Regions from separate parts of the Homo sapiens genome. Here region 1 is linked to region 2. The links are contacts of gene promoters, found by promoter capture Hi-C in human tissues and cell types (Jung and others, 2019). All regions are on one chromosome and are shown on one strand. The core of a region is centred on a gene start or on the middle of the fragment in contact, and the rest is flanking DNA. Distances in the headings are between cores, read along the strand shown. Region 1 overlaps MAP4K3-DT (MAP4K3 divergent transcript). Region 2 holds the start of THUMPD2 (THUMP domain 2 tRNA and snRNA guanosine methyltransferase).

Region 1 (4,881 bases), core at 115-2,614, 260 kb after region 2:
ACTGATTTAAACATGAATCTCATCCAAAAACCACCTTCACAGAAATATCCAGAATAACATTTGACCAAATATCTGGGCACTGTAGTCCAGATAAGTTGGTGCATAAAATTAACCATCATGTAGTCCATGACAGATTAAAAAATTAAAAAGAAAAAAAAAAGTCCTGCATTGGAGATATTTTGAGAAGCTTTGTGTCATATAACTTTTAATAGTCTACCAAATGGTTGTATTAATTTAAAAATTTAGACTAAGATTGCTTATTTCATATGGGAACAGGGAAAAATCCTGGGAGCAGTGTCCTGGCTGGTGTGGGGAGAGGAGGATCTAACCACTTTCTAATTCTGACCAATGAGCCTGAACCATTAAAATCTACCTTTGTATTGCTCTAATTCAGAGTTCCCAAACTGTCTCATGTCACAGCATTTTGTATCCCTGTAATTTTTTCACAGAGTCCCTAGGCAAAAAGAAATACCTACCCAAAATTCCATTTATCCAGTAGTTAAGTCCCAACAACTTAGTTGTTTGAAAAAAATTATACACATAAATCGAAAGAAAAAAATTTATTTCATTCTTAAATACTCAGTTACTTTTAAAAGGATGTGTGTGCCCAAGGTCAAGAGATTGAGACCATCCTGGCCAACATAGTGAAACCCCGTCTCTACTAAAAATACAAAAATTAGCTGGGCATGGTGGCGTGCACCCGTAGTCCCAGCTACTTGGGAGGCTGAGGCAGGAGAATTGCTTGAACCCAGGAGGTGGAGGTTGCAGTGAGCTGAGATCGCGCCACTCTACTCCAACCTGGCAACAGAGTGAGACTCCATCCAAAAAAAAGAAAAAGGGATGTGTATGCCAATTGGGCACCAAATATCTTCCCAAATCTTGGAACCCATGTGGACACAAGCACCTTCACCTCCTATTCCACACTGATTTTCTCTGGGTACTTGCATTTTACAACAACTGCTGAAAACTCAGCTTCCCAAAGACAGGACATTTTTGGAAGAAATGTAGCGCAATCTAATGTTGGAACAATGAACTACCTTGAGCTAATAGTTCAGTTGATATCCAACAGATGTCAAGTGCCACTATACTTCCTTGATATTTAAACTATGCCACAGCCCCCCTCTAAGTTTGCTGCAAAGTCTTGGGTGCCTAGGACACAGTTTGGGAGTCATGACTCTATTCTTTTCCCATTTTTAATTCCATTTTCTCTTGTGCAAAATAAAAGCATGTTCTTTAAGTATCTAGTAACTACCTCTGTTAAACCTAAGGTTATGTAGAATATAACACTTACTGTTATGTCATAACTCTGAGCTTTCACTGCTAGCAATCACAAGGTTGTGTATTCTCTTTTCATTCTTTATCTGCGGTGAATATAGTAGACGAGATGACCTCCAGTGGCCAGGTATCTCAAACATATGCCTAAGAGAGCACAATAAAATATTTTGCTTTGTGTTATATTTAAACCAGAATACAGTTCTTAACTATGTTACTTTTTAACAGATAATTAGATCAAGACTGAAAGAAGCACAAAAATACGTGTAATTTGGTATACTTCTTACTAATGGTTAACCATTTTCAATCGTGTCTTAATCTAATACTGATTTTTCTGACCAATTATATTTATTTCACTCACGCTAAATTCTTATAATTGTAGCCAAAAGTCCCATAGATCATAAAAGTGACTCTGACAACAATTCTTTGGGGCTTACACACAACTTGAAATCAAAAGCCTTTGTTTTCTTCCTCTGGGTCAATATCTTCTCATCATAACTGTTGTCATCATCATCAGAATATGAACTATTTATCTTGTTTGGCCAGTGTCAATAGTTGGAGAAATTACTTCTCTCTGTCTCATATTTCTAGCTTTCTCCTGTTTGATTTTCCATAGGCAGAGGAAAGGAGAAAGAGAAAATCTCTCACATCCCCTGCAAGATTGTTCCTTCCTAACAAGAAAAGACTCCCTCCCCCGACCTTTCTGAAGCTTCTTTTATCTACTATTTACTAGCAGCTACATACATTGATACAACCTGTCTCTGATATTAAGCTCCTGTCTTGTAATGGAGACCATATTGCCTTTCCAGAGATAAATCCAAGCTTATCAAAACACTTTTGAAAACCTCTTTCATAATAAACAGAACACAATTTCAGATAGTAGCACAGAGTGACTTCGCACCTTAGGACAGAGGTCTGATGCCAGAATGCTGTACAGTGGTGCCCTACCCACGATCTCATTTTCACCAGCCTGAGGCTGAACCTCTCCCTTCTTTCTTGCTGGGGTTTTCTATAAATCAGTTGTCAACAAATATATTGGATTCTTTACACTTTGATCTACTTAACATTTTGAAACAGGTATTCACTCAACTCCAAGTTCCTTTCCAATTACCTGGTGGGGTTTGGTGGGGAGCAGTTAGCTGGATACCTGTTTGAAGCAGGTGTCCCAGAAGCCACCTTGCTGTGCATAGACATCAGCTGGCATACAGCCTTCAGTAAGAAGGCTGATGGAAGGTACGCAGTAAAAATTAAAAGCCTAGGAAAAGTACAGGCCCCAGAGCCAGAGCAGAGCAGAGCAGTTGAGTGATGGTTCCTTCTGAGAGCAGGGTGGGAACAATTTCTTGCCCTGCTCCTGGGGATGAAAGTAAAGTCTAAACTTTTTTGCAACAGTGACTAATTCCCCATCAGAGAGCCTCCTGCGATTGCAGAGCTAATTTCATGAGTGGTAAATGAAGGGTCTCTCAAAGTGAGAGCTGACAGAGGAAGAAACAGAGAAAAACTAAAAGCAAATCCCTAAACATTACCCACATTGCAAAACAGAAGGGAATTTTCAGAAGCAATGATAGAGAACGGCCCACCTCCAGATCTCCCTCAGACATGTTTTCTTCCTTCCTGACTCATTGAGTTTCTTTAGGAAAGCCTGGTGAGAAGGGATTATGAAGCAGGCAAGGGAGCCAGCCTTTTCTGGCAACACAGGGCATTTTGATTTCAGAATCTGCAAATCTTCAAGAACAGACCCGGTGTGCACTAGTGTTCTAGGCTGGAGTCCAGCAGCAGTTCAGCTGCAGATGAAGCAAATCAGCTGGTTGGTGCTGACAGCCAGAGACCCAAGGACTTTCCTGGTGCTACACCTCTCTGGAAGTTTGAAGATGTTGGGACAGGTTTGCCTTCTGAAATGTGCAAATGTCACCAGCCGGGAGTGGCAGATGCCAGGAGGCATCTGCAAACAGATCTCCATCTGGCCATGGGCTAGGCTTCCTGGGACACAGATTAGAATAGTTTGAAACAAAGGGGCGGAAGCACCGGCTAAGCTTTTCACATATTGTTATGGTCTCTGGGTCACTTCCTGCCTTTGGAATTTATTTCCTTTCCAGGTTCAGCAAAATTCAATGAATGACAAGAAAGAGTTTGGGGTTTGTCTTTGCCTCTGGCCCAGTCGAGGGGCGGCTCTGCCTCTGTGAACTTGTACCTCTGCAGTGGTTGCATTCTCCCGCGCTGTTTGTTCACACTGAGCCCAGCATGGGGGAAGCTTCAGGATGCAACAATAAATAAGGGAAGGGAGCCATCTCCAGTTGAGTCAGATAAATCCTCTTCTTCCTAGAAAACAGAAAAGGAAAGAATAGATTGGGAAGGGCAAAAATGATGTTTTATCAAGGAGAGCTCTTTCTCACCAGCTCCCCATTCAGAGATGTAACCAGCTTTGAAGGTAGGAGGCCGAACGTGGCTCCATGCAGTCGCACCTCCCACCTCCTGGAGTCAGCCAGTAGGCCAGATAGGTACACAGGACAGTGACATTTGCTACACAACAATGATCTGCTTTGTTTTCTTTTACCAGTATTTAATTTGCACTTTGTTCCAACAGGGACTTCAGGTAGCAATAACTGCCTTTCTGACAGCATTTTCACGCTCATTTTGGGCACTTTGAAGCTGACATGAATGCATATCGCAAAATCCTTCTGCAACCCCCGGCAATCCCTGTACATCCACTGCAGTTCTGCAGTGCAGAGACCCCCAGAGGCCAAGGCAGACCCTTTTGCCCCAACAGCTGCAGGACCCTATCAAAACTTAATGTGGTCCCTGCTGCCCCTGTCATTTCTTTGAGAAAGAGTGTGTCTCTCTGAATAGTGATCCACCGTCATGAATAAGTTCCTTCTGAAAGCCGGCTCATACAGCCCTTGTCAGGAAGAATCTCGCAGAGCCTGTCCACATATCCAGAGTCCATCTCTCTCTAGACTGAGAGGTCAGGGTTCATAGCTTTAGAGGAAGGGTAATTTTTGCCCCCACCTTTAGTCTAAACACAGCTAAACTAGCAGCAAACGCTATTGTAAATACAGAGGAAGTTGCAACTAGTGATCAGCCTTTCTCCTGGTGCCACTCAATCTCCCAGAAATAAGAACTAAAGCTTCCCCTCCATCAGTTTAAACAATCTCTTTGCTCGAGGCTGCAGATGCCACCACTGTTGGGAGCTAGCAGTGACAGGGCTGCTGCCTTGGGTTATCACTGTGGCTCAGGCGTCAATCAAATTGACCTTTTCAAATTGCACCAACACATCTCGCATTCACAGAAATGGTCTGCTGTGACCTTCACAACAATTGTTCCTAACCACTTTAGGAAGTTCTGGGGGAAGGAAGTAAGTAGGTAGGGCGGAGATGGCTGTATACATACCAGGGTCAGGAACACCTGTAGAGTACGAAAGCAACAGGAAGTCTGCCCAAGAGTCCCAACTTTCCTCCATGAAAAAGCGCTCTGTCAGATTCAGGCATTATGTTTCCATATAAAAGTATAACCCGGGTCTGGGAAATTTATAAATCATTACTTTTAAACTTTACAGAATCTGATAGCACGGGACTGTCAGGGAGCCAGGAATCTGCATTTTTATCAAGCCCACCG
Region 2 (5,082 bases), core at 1,388-3,887:
GCTACAGATGCCCAGATGAAGTCATCCCATCCTCAAGGATTTCACAATCTATAGCACTTGCATTTTAATATATAAGTATATACATCATACACCTTTAAGAACTAAAAGAATTGCCAGTGGCACCAAAATAGGGAGCTATCTCAAAGCAAATATTCTTGTCCTAAATTCTTAAAACACCTCCACTTAAAAGTCTGTCCATTCTAAAATTGTTCCTGCCGACTTCCAATTTCCTACATGTTGAAATATGTAATATTCGAACAGTAAATTGCAGCTGGATATGCTAAATTTGTCTATAGGGATCCATAGTTTTCAGAAGAGACTTTTTTAAAGAAGAAGAGATGATGGAGAAAAGAGTACCTGAGTAATGGGGGAGAGAATTCCAGGCAACTCTCTTACCAGAAAACGAAACTAATTTCTCCCTAAAGAGGCAGAACTCCCCCATTCCATCGCACTGCAAGCATTTTGTGAAGGGCATTGGTACAGCTGACATACTGCAGCACAGTTCAAAAGGAACAAATGCACATGACTCCCACATATGAAACAAGAGTAGCCCCGACCTTGCTGACCAAAGGCTCCTGGAGGGGAAAAGACATCAGAAGAAAGAGGAGAAAGTAAGGGGAAGATCGATTGGCTCTGCAAAACTGCAGCCTCAGCTCAGCTGTGGTTTCACCCAGGCCAGCACACTGCTGGTCGGTGCTGGACTGAATAGGTCATTTCATTTTTTCAGCTGCCTTTGGTTGTACTGACATAACTGGGCCCCTACCCACCGCTCTACCGCATCTCTATCTACTCCACTCATATACTTTATGCTCTAATAACACTTAACCGCTATCGTGGCTTTCCTGTTCCCCACCCCCCACACGCCGTCTCATTTTCATCTGCTGCTTCTCCCTCTTACACATCCTTCATGCTGGACTCAAGAGCGATTTTGTCCAGGAAGCCCTCCCTGCCTCCTTTTTGTCGGTGCTGTCATAGCTTCCCGGGTATGTCCTCAGTGAGTCATTCAACTTCACCATCCTCTAAGCCCTTGAAGTCCAAACCCTTGCTTACCCATCTTTGAATCCTCAAGACAGGGTGGTGACTGGCGGAGAATAGGTGTTCAGTATTTGTTGAACTGAATGGAATGCATCCTATCTGCATACTTAACATCTTGGGCACAGAATGTAGAGAGAACTAAAGAGGGTTCCTGTCCTCCCCAGACAGACTTGACAGTCAGAACCCCAAAGTATAGAGAAGTTAAAATGAACTACGGCAGTAGCCCAGAAAAGGAAAACATGTGTCTGAGGGCAAGAAAAGAATTCATCAAAACGGTAGTGTGTGAGGGCTGGGTGCCTGTAATCCCAGCACTTTGGGAGGCCGAGGCAGGCGGATCGCTTGATCTCAGGAGTTCGAGACCAGCCTGGCCAACATGGTGAAACCCCTTCTCTACAAAAAATACAAAAATTAGCCCGGTGTGGTGGGGCTTGCCTGTGGTCCCAGCTACTGGACAGGCTGAGGTGGGAGGATTACTGGAGCTCAGGAGGTGGAGGCTGCAGTGAGCCAAGATCACGTCACTGCGCTCCAGCCTGGGCGACAGAGGGAGACCCTGTCGCAAAAAATAAAAAATAAAAAGCAGCATCAGAAGAGTCTTAGGACTGAACCTTGGAAAAGCTCATGTTATGTGACTCCATGAAGAATTTTTACTGTACGGCCCAGTAGAGCATGAGCTGGGTGGGGGCGGGGGTGTGTGTGGGAGTGTCGGGGGAGGTGAGGGAGTATCAGTTCTTCACCTTAACATCCCATTCTGAAGCACAGGACAGCCCCTTGTCAGAGACACACATGCATTTATCATTTCTGTATAACTGACTCAATATACAGCTACAGAGCTAATTTCACGCTGTTTATCTTGTAACATGGATTCTGTCTATGCTTCCCAAGTAATATTTTCATTTCCATTTTAAAATTCAGAGTTTAGAAAAATGCCTTCAAATACCGTTAGGAGAACCATTCAAATCAGGTGCCCAAAACTAGATGGCACATTGATTCATCTATGGCTGGATGGTTAACTAAGTAGTGCAAGAAATATGAGCTGTTTCAGAACGCAGACGTTTGTTAGAGAACAGGAACTTCTGCTCTCCGTCCTGGAGATTCCAACGTTTGGCCCGATTCTTTGTGAAAACAGACCAGGGCTCCTTCTATGAGAAGAGTAGAGGAGAGGAATGAAGGACAGGAAGAGGACGGAGTTGGGAGGAATGGAGGAAAAGGCATTATGTTAGATAGGGAGAAATCTAGGCTCCAGCCTCAGCTGTGCTGCTAACTCGCTGTCTCTTGACCTCTCTGGGCATTAATTTCCTCAATCTACAAAATAAGGCAACTGGACTGAATTATCAATTCTAACCCTTCCACCTGTGATTCTAACCCATTCTGGTGCCTAATCAAGGAGGGGACAGATGGTCAACCAGGAAGACCCATAGGGGCCACAGAGGGCTGATGCGACCCTCCCAGGCTCTCCGTCTCTCTCACCCTCTCCTTCCCCCTCCCTCTCCCCCTCCCCCTCTCCCTCTCCCTCTCCCTCTCCCCTTTGGCATCACACGCCCCTGCGCGCCGCCTCCAGGAGCGAGCCGCTCGCGCCCGAGGCCACGTGACCCGAAGGCGCGAGGGCGCGCCTGAGCCGCCATGTCGGAGGCGCGTGGAGAGCCAGGGTCCGGGCCTGAGGCTGGCGCCCGATTCTTCTGCACTGCGGGTCGCGGCCTGGAGCCGTTCGTAATGCGAGAGGTGCGGGCGCGGCTGGCGGCCACGCAGGTGAGTTGGCCTCGCTGCGCGCCTGGGGAGGTGGGCGGCCCTGTCCCTGCCCTGTTGCCCACCCCAGTCGTGGACGCGGGAAAGCGTCGCTGGCGCCCCTCTCTGTTCCACGCGACGGTCGCCGACCCCCGAGGTTGACTGGCAGGCGCTTCCGCTCCGGCCGAGAGAAGCCACCATTCCTTTCTTTCCTTGTATAGCAAATCCAGTTCCTCACTTCTCAGGGCTCAAGTTTTTAAGAGAGGTGTTGAGGCAAGTTATTTCCTGGATTCTTTAAAGTAGTAAGTAGTGCCTGTAATTAGAATCTGGCCTGTCAGAGTTAGAACCCTTCGCTCTTTAAATGCAAACATAATCTCCAAGTTCAGTTACCTGACTTTTTGTTAGTTTCTTGACAGTGATTGTATTTGACTACATAGGATTGTTGTGAGAATTAAATTATATAGCGTATGCAAAGTACACTTTAAACACGCAGTAAATAGCAGCCAGAAAAATAATATACTCTTGCAGGCCTCATAGTTATCTGTTATTGATTTCTGTGAAATGAACAAGGTTTTAAGCATCGGTTTAGGTTTTAGAATGTTGAAAACTGGTTTCTTGAAAGTAGGGGATGAAGGTATAATAGAAAAGGTATCTTGATGGGGTGTATGGGACACTGTGAGTGATGTACTCTTGGAAAAGGAGAGCTTCCTAAATGAAATTAACCCCTCCACCCTGGCAGCTCCTACAGTGTGGGAAGCCCACAAAAGGAGTTTCTGCAGTGAAAGGTTGGAGTCGTGAAGAATTATGTCAGTTTTGTTAGACTACCTGCCACTTGTGTTTTGGGTCACAGAATTTAATAGAGTATTGAATGTAGCTAATCTTAAAAAGCATCAATATATAATAACTACTGACATTTATTGAACATTTAATATGTGTCAGGCACATGTTCTTAGATCTTTACCCTATATTTATTTGCGTACTTTTCACAACAGCCCTATAAGGTAGGTGTTCCACATTTAACAGATGAGAAAAATGAAGCACAGGTAAGTCCGAGAATTTATTCAAGTCATGCAACTAGAAAATCGCAAAGATGGGATTCAAACCCGAGCTGGGAAATCAAGAATGAGTATATAATCATGTTCAAACCAGGCCCACTATATGACCATGACATAGGGGTGCGCTGGCTTGTTTTTTTAAATGCTAACTTAGAGTGCTTGGTATGAAAGAGAGAGAGAGCTTGGCCCAATTAATATGTAGGATTATTAGAAAAAGGAAAGACTCTCTGCTTGTTCTCCATCTTCTCTAAAGACAAATGAAATGGGGAAAACTTTATTACCAGGAAGAAAATTCAATTAAATACAGGGAAAACTTTTTGACAGTGGGAGTAATTAAATGCCAGTAGATTTGGGAATTTCCATATTCTGCTCTTGTATGTTTGAAAGATAGATAGGTCTGGAAATGGGATCTGAACAAATAATCTCTGAAATTCCACCCAAGTTGCTCTGATACAAAGTGAACTCTCAAAGTTAAGGCAATCCTGAAATAACAGTGATGACAACTAACATTTATTAAACACTTAAAATGTTAGACAAGTTATGTGCATGTTATGATTTAATCCTCAAAAGACTCCTATCTGATAGACTTTTACCTCCATATTTTACCAAAAAAAGAGAAAATTGGGACTTGTCTCTGAGTCTCTCTAGCTTTAAAGCCCATGTGCTTTACCACTAGGCTAAATTACCATGGGAATCTTCCCTGGAACATTGGATGTAGTTTATTTCTGTAACACCACGGTAGAGTACGTATGGTCTTTAGAATCAAAAGACCTGTGTGCAGATCTTATATATTCCTTTAGTGGATTTGTAACTTTGGGCAAATTACTCAAATTTCTGAGCCTCAATTTTCTTGGATGTAAAATAGAGATGATAGCTACTTTAAAGGATTACTGCAGTCCCTGAAATAAAGATAGCACAGGTAGCATGCTGCCTAACAAATAGTTGGTGCTCAATTTTAGTTCCCATACAATGAGTTGTACAGGAATACTTAAAACATTCTTTCAATGATAAGAGAGTGTTAGAAACTTTGGATCGCATCAAGGAAATTAACACTCTAAAATGTAAATTTACAAAACAGATTAATTCAAGAATGATTGTTTAAGAAAGTAATCACTTCATTTTAATGTGTTTTTCCAATTTTCATGAACATAAGAATCACTGAGGAAGCTTGTTGAAAATGAGTATTTCTGGGTGCCAGCCCCAAAAGGTTTTCTTTTAGTAGGGTGGCTGATAAGCCCAGGTGCTACCATTTTAACATGAAAACATGCTC

The links. Contacts are between HindIII fragments. The study calls those that stand out against the background at their distance.
Region 1: a contact is called between a fragment that was not itself captured here and the fragment with the promoter of THUMPD2 in region 2, in 1 of the 25 tissues and cell types used here (hippocampus).

The regions. Positions count from the first base shown.
Region 1 is chr2:39,515,121-39,520,001 of GRCh38, reverse strand. MAP4K3-DT (MAP4K3 divergent transcript) reads right to left here. Exons shown (of 6, transcript NR_037875.1): 4 at 3,461-3,588; 5 at 1,292-1,419. Among named protein-coding and RNA genes, the nearest start is that of MAP4K3-DT, 80 kb to the right of the region's middle. RefSeq lists enhancers at 2,590-3,182, 3,183-3,774, 3,775-4,367 and a silencer at 4,456-4,676. The HindIII fragment of the contact is 5,186 bases long and covers 1-3,957 here.
Region 2 is chr2:39,776,813-39,781,894 of GRCh38, reverse strand. THUMPD2 (THUMP domain 2 tRNA and snRNA guanosine methyltransferase) reads left to right here and starts at 2,637. Exons shown (of 10, transcript NM_025264.5): 1 at 2,637-2,781. The coding sequence starts at 2,656. The HindIII fragment of the contact is 6,344 bases long and covers 1-5,082 here.